Linked DNA regions of Homo sapiens: region 1 is linked to region 2. The links are contacts of gene promoters, found by promoter capture Hi-C in blood cells and fetal thymus (Javierre and others, 2016). All regions are on one chromosome and are shown on one strand. Each heading gives the region's core, a stretch centred on a gene start or on the middle of the fragment in contact. The rest is flanking DNA. Distances are from core to core; before and after follow the strand shown. Region 1 has its middle 8.8 kb from the start of EIF1AD. Region 2 holds the start of CTSW (cathepsin W).

Evidence for each region. Contacts are between HindIII fragments. The CHiCAGO score rates a contact against its expected background, and 5 or more counts as called.
Region 1: a fragment that was not itself captured here is called in contact with the fragment with the promoter of CTSW in region 2 in 16 of 17 cell types (erythroblasts, naive CD4 T cells, naive B cells and 13 more); the score reaches 14.9 in erythroblasts.

The regions. Positions count from the first base shown.
Region 1 is chr11:65,990,960-65,995,667 of GRCh38, reverse strand. No RefSeq gene overlaps it. Among named protein-coding and RNA genes, the nearest start is that of EIF1AD, 8.8 kb to the left of the region's middle. The HindIII fragment of the contact is 2,532 bases long and covers 1,201-3,732 here.
Region 2 is chr11:65,877,000-65,881,271 of GRCh38, reverse strand. It overlaps CTSW (cathepsin W), which reads right to left and starts at 1,435. Exons shown (of 10, transcript NM_001335.4): 1 at 1,331-1,435; 2 at 986-1,070. The coding sequence starts at 1,417. The HindIII fragment of the contact is 11,122 bases long and covers 1-1,999 here.

The sequences.
Region 1 (4,708 bases), core at 1,217-3,716, 110 kb before region 2:
CTAATTTTTCTTTTTCTATTTTTTTTTTTTTTTTTTTTTGTAGAGCCAGTCTTATTATGTTGCCCAGGCTGGTCTCAAACTCCTGGGCAAGCCATCCTCCCGCCTCAGCCTCCCAGAGGGCTGGGATTCCAGGCGTGAGCCACTATGTCCACCCAAGAAGTGGTATCTTAACAGTTTATTTTTAGTTTTGTTTAAATAAATATTGTAGAAAAATTAACAGTTTTTCATCTTCCTGTCCAGAAATGAGGTATGTTCTTTGGTAAGGTGGTGTGGTCTTCAAATGGGCCTTTACTTCCAATTTGGTTTAGTCTTAGGAGTTTTATGAAAGTCCTAGTTACTGGTAGTGAAGGATCTGTGGAAATCACCTTTCCCCATCCCTGGCATCCACCTGTGTGTCCATCTTTGTGTTGCCCACCTTGTCGAATGCGCAGTTCTTCAGTTGATCTTGTGGCTTTATAGATAGCCAAATCGTATCCCACTAATGACAGTTTTATCTCCTCCTTTACACTCATGTCTATTTCTTGTGAATCTCAGAGGCCAGGACCTCCACCGTGGTTGCATGGCACCCTTGATTGATGTTTTCTCAGTGGGAATGGTTCTCACGTTGCGTCCTGAGGTAGGACGCTTGCTCTGGGCTTCCGGTAGATGATCTTCATTAGACTGAAGATGTTTTCTTTGTTCCATCTTACTGTTTTTTTTTTCTCCTTCGCTTTTGTTTAACAGTGATGAATGTTGACATCTATGGAGAAAATCAAAAGATTTTATTGTATGATTGTACTGAGTTACAGTAATAGGTTTCCTAATGTTGGACACACCTTACTTTCTGATATAAACCTTGCTTAGTTTTACAGTATATTATGTATTTACTTAGGAGTTTTATCTCTCTCCCTGGGCCAATCCCCTCCCTCTTTTTAAAAAATGACCTTCCTGTTCTATTTCGAGATTAGCTTTATGCTAGCCTTGCAAATGGGTTTGGAGACGTCTTTTTCTTCAGGCTTGAATACTTTATAGGCCAGGCATTTGTTTCTTCAACGTTGTGAACTTGTTTACAAAAACATCTGTGCTGGGTACCTTTTTCAGGGGTGGATCTTTCACTGCCTTTTAGTTTATTCAGTTGTGTTCTGTCTAAAGTTTTCTATCCTTGAGTCAATTTTGATCATTTGTATCATTCCAGGATCATATTTCATATATATTTAAGCTTTTTGGGCAAAAGTTCATGCATAATATTTGTATTATTTGGAACTTTCTTTTTTTGTTTGTTTGTTTTTGTTTTGTTTTTGAGGCAGAGTTTCACTGTGTCGCCCAGGCTTGAGTGCAGTGGTGCAGTATCGGCTCACTGTAACCTCCACCTCCCGGGTTCAAGTGATTCTCCTGCCTCAGCCTCCCAAGTAGCTGGAATTACAGGCACCCGCCACCACACCCAGCTAATTTTTGTATTTTTAGTAGAGATGGGGTTTTGCCATGTTGACCAGGCTGGTCTCAAAGTCCTGACCTCAGGTGATTGGCCCCCCTCAGCCTCACAAAGTGCTGGGATTACAAGGGTGAGCCACTGCACCCAGTAATTTTTTTTTTTTTTTTGAGACAGCCTCTCACTCTGTTGCCCAGGCCATCATGGCGCCACTGCAGCCTTGACCTCCCAGGCCCAAGTGATTCTCCCACCTCAGCCTCCTGAGTAGCTGGAACCACATGTGCGCGCCACCACACCTGGCTAATTTTTTTTATTTTTAGTAGAGACAGGCTCTCCCTATGTTGCCCAGGCTAGTCTCGAACTCCCAGGCTCAAGTGATGCTCCTGCCCTGGCCTCTCAAAGTACTGGGATTACAGGTGAGAGCCACCATCCTGGCGTATGCGGGACTTTCTTATAAATGACAAAATTGAACTCAAATTAGGAGAAGTAAGCAAGGCTCATTGACCTGAGGTCTCTGAGTGGTGCGCATCGGGCAGGGATGAACCAATGCCAGCAGCATGAATTCCTCAGGCTCTCTCATTTATCTCTGTCATCTCTGCTCCCGGCTGATTAATTTCTTTCCCTCCTACAGATGTTTTCTGTAGAAAGCTCAAGTTTTTTTTTTTTTTTTTTTTTTGAGACGGAGTCTCGCTGTTGCCCAGGCTGGAGTGCAATGGCGCGATCTCGGCTCACTGCAGGCTCCGCCCCCCGGGGTTCACGCCATTCTCTTGCCTCAGCCTCCTGAGTAGCTGGGACTACAGGCGCCCGCCACCACGCCCGGCTAATTTTTTGTATTTTTAGTAGAGACAGGGTTTCACCGTGTTAGCCAGGATGGTCTCGATCTCCTGACCTCGTGATCCGCCTGCGTCGGCCTCCCAGAGTGCTGGGATTACAGGCATGAGCCACTGCGCCCAGCCAGGACGCTCAAGTTTATACACAGTCCTTGTAGACAGAGCCCCTTGGGGCTCTTGAGGATCCCTGTATTTCCGTGAAGGGCGATTGATCTTCCTCAGGTCACTTGCTGTGCTTGAGCAGTCACTGTGGCCAGGGCCGGGGGGTGGGAGGGTGTGGAGGACTGGGGTGGGGCAGGATGAGCCACAAGTAATTTTTATATGTTTCCCATGGAATAGAGAGGTTCTATTACCAGAAAAAGTGGGGCAAGGGGTGAGGGCAGGTGAAATCAACAAAATATGTTTATATTTTGTGTATTTTATTTGGCTAGCTTTGCAAGAGGTCTTCCTTACTGGACTTTTCCTTCGTTTCTTTGGGTTTATTTGCTCATTCTGGGTTCTTGAGATGTGTGCTTAGCTAATTTAATTTCAATTTGTTTTCTAATATATTCAGGGCTATATGTTTTCTTCTAAATAGTCCTTTGACTGTTCCCCACTTTGTGTGTGTGTGTTTTGGCGTTTTATCTGTAAACTTGGTCTTATGTTCTTCTCCATTCTCTCAGTGATACTGTGATCCACCTAGTAACATCTTTTTTTCCCCCTAAAACCTTTTCGTTTCCACTTCTTCATCTCTTACCAGCCATTCAGCTTCTGTGGGCTGTAGCTAAGGGTACTGATGGAGGTAGGGTCCTTGTATTCTGCATGCTACTTTCCTATGTCATTCTCTGAAGCTGGATTCCACCTCTGTTCTTCCAACTGAATGGTGGGATCCAACCATGTATGAATAGATCTCCCTGAGTGAGCTGAGATCTGATGTAAGAGCCCCTTGTCCCGATGTCATGGCCAGTCCCTGTGACTGGCTGCCTAATAGTACTTACTGGCTTCTCTTGCAGTTATGCTTGAGACTTTGTGGCCCTTCAGAATCTGTACCTCTGTCACTTCAGGACTAACCTCTACAGCCAGGTCATTTCCACCAGGGCTTCCCCGTGTGGCCCAGTGCGCTTTCCCCCCTTGCCACCCAGCCACCCCTGTGTGTGTGCCAGGGAGCACAGATGGCAGTCTGAGCTCACCACATGGTTTTCCTCTTCTAATCTGTAAATGTGGTGGAGTATCATAACATTCTCTCACGTTAAGATATCCTTGCATTCCTGGAAGAAGACAGTCACAATGGATTTGTTATTATACTGCCGGATTTGGTTCTCTGGTATTTTGGCATCCAGGTGTATAGGTGAAATGGTTTAAGGTTTTCCTTTTCCGTACTGCCCCCACCCTTTGTTTTGTATCAAGGTTATACCAGCTTCATATAAATAAGTTGGAAAGTGTTTTCCCTTTATTTTCATTACGAGAGTTTGTATAAGATTGGAATTTTGCATTTCTACAATTTTTGGTAAAGCTTGCTGTAAAACCAACCATGCCTGGCGATTTTTTGGGTGGGTGGGTAGGTAGGTTTGGAATTAGATTGTCAGTGGTAATAGATTACTCAGGTGTTCTGTTCTTCAGTCATATTTTCAAGGAAAAATATTTTCATGTTATTTATTTATTTATTTATTTTTGAGACAGGATCTTGCTCTGTCGCCCAGGCTGGAGTGCAGTGGCCCCATCTCGGCTCACTGCAACCTCCGCCTCCCGGGTTCAAGTGATTCTCCTGCCTCAGCCTCCCGAATAGCTGGGATTACAGGTATGTGCCACCATGGCCGGCTAATTTTTGTATTTTTAGTAGAGATGGGGTTTCACCATGTTGGCCAGGCTGGTCTCAAACTCCCGATCTCAGGTGATCTGCCCACCGCAGCCTCCCAAATTGCTGGGGTTACAGGCGTGAGCCACCACACCCAGCCCCCATATTTTCTCATGTTTGCTATGGCTTCAAACTTACTGGCGCAAAGTTATTTGTATGATTGCCTTATGTTTGTAATCTTGGCTGTATCCAAAGTTATGTCCCCCTTTTTACATGTAATATTGTTTATTTGTGCCTTCTCTCTGTTATAGCTGGTCAATCTTGGCAGAAGGTCATTATTAGTCTTTTCTAAGCACCAGCTTTTTGTTGTCATTCTTTGTATTGGTATTTCATTAATTGCTGCTCTTACCGTATTTCCCACTTATACTCCCTTTGTTTTTGTTTGTTTTTGTTTTTTTCTCATAACCAATGGGAAACAAACCAATCCCTCTGGGTTTATCCTGTAGTTCTTTTTCTTTTTCCTTTCTTTGTTTTGTTTTGTTTTGTTTTGTTTCTGAGATGGAGTCTTGCTCTGTCACCCAGGCTGGAGTGCAGTGGTGCAATCTCAGCTCACTGCAACCTGTGCCTCACAGGTTCAAGCCATTCTTCTGCCTCAGCCTCCTGAGTAGCTGGGATTACAGGCGCCCACCACCACGC
Region 2 (4,272 bases), core at 186-2,685:
ACTGCAGATACCCAGGCCCAGGAAGTGGTTACCCAGCCCACCGAGGGTTGGGTTTTCCCCAGAGGCAGCCAGAGGACCATCTCTGGCCACCCTAGGTGGGAAGCCAGGCAAGGGGTCCGGTGGTGGTGACTCAAGGATGTGTGGCTGGAGACCAGCTTCCTGCCAGGCCACGTCCTTTACACCTCTGACCACAGGAGGAGAGCTGGAACATGGCAGGGAGAGGAGATGACAAGGCACAGGCAGTCTGGGCTAAAAGGCACACACAGATCAGCCCCCTAGAGAGATCAGCACAGCGAGAGGGCAGGGGCAGGGGTTAGATCATGGGCTAGAGAAGAAGTCCCCAATGTGGGGACAAAATGGGTGTCCTTGGGTGTTTGCTGAATGAGCAAATGACTAGGTGGTGGCCCCCTGTCCACTGCCTAGAATCGCAGGGAAGTGGCTGTGGAGCCAGGGGATCACGTAGGACTAGGGCAGGACCCCACCTCCTGCCACTGCCCTCCAGATCCATAGCAAAGAATGATCCTGGACCCACTCATGCCTTCGGGAAACCAGGGAACACACCCCCAGCCCTGGCCTGTCCTGCTGAGTGGCCTTGGCCATGCCTGTTCCCCACCCTGAGCTTCGATTTCTTCATCTATTACAAAGCGGGATGGCTGGGCTCCGTGGCTTACACCTGTAATCCCAGCCCTTTGGGAGGCCGAGGCAGGCGGATCACCTGATGTCAGGAGTTCAAGACCAGCCTGGCCAACATGGTCAAACCCCATCTCTACTAAAAATGTAAAGGTTAGCCAAGTGTGGTGGCGCATGCCTGTAATCCCAGCTACTCAGAGGCTGAAGCAGGAGAATCGCTTGAACCCGGGAGGTGGAGGTTGCAGTGAGCCAAGATGACACCATTGCACTCCAGCCTGGTCAACAAGAGTGAAACTCCGTCTCAAAAAAAAAAAAAGTGGGGGCTTGGACTGGAGATGTATGTGCCCTGTGATACCTTCTGGGCTCAGGTAACTCCGGTTGAACTGGATCTGGAACAACTTGAAGGCCTCTTTCAGCTCTAGCGGCTGGGGACCTAGGTCCTGGCAAGGAACCAAGGGTGGAGAGGGGCAGTGGGCAGAGGAATCATTGCTGGGGCCCCACCTTAGTTCCCAGCCGTGCAAGGACTGGGCTAGGGGTCAGCCAGTTAGCCTTTTCTGTCTTCCCATGTGCCCTTGGGCACGTCAGCCCCCTCTCCAGCCTCAGCAACTCCCTCTGAAAAATGAGAATGACAGGCCAGCTGTTTCTGAAGGGGTGACCCCAGGCGTGGGACTGGCATAGGTAAGGGTTTGGGAGCACTTACCTGGGCCCTAAGGGGGCCTCTGATGCCTTGGGCTAGGCCTGCCACCAACAGGGCCAGGAGGCAGGAGGGGTGGGCAGTCAGTGCCATGCCGGTGCAGTCTGGAGTGGCATGGAGGCAGGAAGCCGCGCAGATCGAGGAGGACGGTGTGAGGGTGGGGCTGGAGAAACCACGAAGGGGAAGACAGGCTTGGTGGGTGGAGGGTGGACCCCTAGAACCCACAAGTTGCTCAGGCCTTCAGGCTTTCAGTCCCTGCCTGTCTGCTCCCCATCCCACCCCTTTTTCTTTCTTTCTTTCTTTCTTTTTTTTTTCCACCCAGGTTGGAGTGCAGTGGCATGATCTCGGCTCACTGCAACCTCCACCTCCCGGGTTCAAGCAATTCTCCTGCCTCAGCCTCCCGACTAGCTGGGACTACAGGCATGCACCACCATGCCCAGCGAATTTTTTGTATTTTCAGTAGAGACAGCATTTCACCATGTTGGTCAGGCTGGTCTCCAACTCCTGACCTCAGGTGATCCACCTGCCTCAGCCTCCCAAAGTGCTGGGATAACAGGCATGAGCCACTGCGCCCAGCCAAGGGAACCACTCTTGCTCATCCTATGAAGCTCAGTCAGCTCAATGGCCGCCTCTTTCAAGAAGCCTTCCCTGCTTCCCCAACCTCTGGTAGAAGCTTTGCAGCCCCTTCAGCCCAGCTGCACCTGTGCCCATTGGGCATCTGCCTCCAACCACACCAGAAGTGTTCAGTTCGCTTGTGTCCTCGGTGTCCTCGGTTCCCAGGATAGGGCTAGGCATGAGTCAGGCTCGCTAGGTGTTTGTTGACTGAACAATTGATCATCATGAGTTTTAAACAGGAAAGCAGGCCGGGCATAATGGCTCATGCCTGTAATCTCATCACTTTGGGAGGCCAAGGTAGGAGAATCATTTGAGCTCAGGAGTTGGAGACAAACTTGGACAACTGAGCAAGGCTTCATCTCTACTTAAAAAAAAAAAAGTTAGCCAAGCATGGTGGTGCTCTCCTGTAGTCCCAGCTACTGGGGAGGCTGAGGCCAGTGGGATTGCTTGAGCCTGGAAGATTAAGGCTGCAGTGAGCTATGATCATGCCTCTGCACTCCAGCGTGGGTCCAAGATCCTGTGTCAAAAAAACAAAACCAGGCCAGGCACGGTGGCTCACGCTTGTAATCCCAGCACTTTGGGAGGCCGAGGCGGGTGGATCACCTGAGGTCAGGAGTTGGAGACCAGCCTGGCCAACATGGTGAAACCCTGTCTCTACTAAAAATACAAAAAAGCAGCTGGGCATGGTGGCGGGCGCCTATAATCCCAGTTACTCGGGAGGCTGAGGCACAAGAATCACTTGAACCTGAGAGGTGGAGGTTGCAGTGAGCCGAGATCGCACCATTACACTCCAGCCTGGGCAACAAAAGTGAAACTCCATCTCAAAAAACAAAACAAAACAGGAAAGCGCAGAGTCAGAGTCCGGGAGCAGCAACTGCAGCCAGTGCCTCCCGTTCCTCATCCCTCCCACGGTCTAGGGATGAGGATGAGGGGGCTGAAGAGCCAGAAGGATAACAGGGTGAGCATCACAGACGGAGGGAGGCCAAAGCCTGACTTGTGAGGTCAAGGGCTGGGCAGCAGCATTAACACCCGTTACTGCTGCCTTTGTTCTAAGTGGGTCCTTGGGCTGGGGACCTCCCCTATAGGAGTTCAGGCTGAGAACTGGTGACCAAGACCAGAGAAGGGTGTGAAGAGCTGGCTTTCTAGGGTTCCATGGGGTGGGAGACAGGACAGCTATAATCCTGGGATTTATTCACTTACATGCTCACTACTGCGTTTCTTTTTTTTGTTTGTTTTTTTGAGACGGAGTCTCGCTCTGTCGCCCAGGCTGGAGTGCAGTGGTGCGATCTCGGCTCACTGGAACCTCCACCTCCTGGGTTCACGCCATTCTCCTGCCTCGGCCTCCCGAGTAGCTGGGACTACAGGCACCCGCCACCACGCCCGGCTAATTTTTTGTATTTTTTAGTAGAGACAGGGTTTCACCATGTTAGCCAGGATGGTCTTGATCTCTTGACCTCGTGATCCGCTCGCCTCGGCCTCCCAAAGTGCTGGGATTACAGGCGTGAGCCACCACGCCCGGCCTACCATGTTTCTTTATTAGGATTCCTCCCAGAGTCGTGAGGCCACACTTTGTCACCCTGCCCAGAGAGTAAACCAAGGGGCTTCTCTATCTGAAAAGCATGCTGCTGCCTTTATTGAAATGCAGTGGACAGACCATCCCCAGAGTGGTGCCTGGCCCTGTGGTTCTAGAGCCCAGTTATGGGCCCCAGCCAGTCTTGTCCTGTGTGTGACTGATAGTTAAGGCTCCATGTCAGCCCTCAGAGGTGGAGGTCCCAGTGTGGGCCTCTTGTGATGGTAGGGGATGTGGGAGGCCACGGGGAAAAGGAACTGGAGGTGTGGGGCCCAGTGGCCTTCCCTTTGATCCTCTCCTCCCTTCCCTTGAACTAGAGCTCCTGAGGCCAGGAGGTTTGGGTCTGTTTTTGGTCAGTGCTGTGTCCCTGGCTAGCACCACAGCATCTGCTTCACAGTGGCCACTCAGTAAACATTGTTTGTTTTGTTTTGCTTTGTTTTTTTGAGACAGAGTCTCACTCTGTCGCCCAGCCTGGAGTGCAGTGTCACGATCTCGGCTCACCGCAACCTCTGCCTCCCGGGTTCCAGCAATTCTCCTGCCTCAGCCTCCCAAGTAACTAGGGCTACAGGTGTGCACCACCATGCTGGGGTAATCTTTTTGTATTTTTAGTAGAGACAGGGTTTCACCATGTTGGTCAGGCTGGTCTCAAACTCCTGACCTCAAGCAATCCACCTGCCTTGGCCTCCCAAAGTGCTGGGATTACAGGCGTGAGCCACTGCACCCGGCCGAGAAAACATTTGTTGAGTGAATCAATGAACTTCCT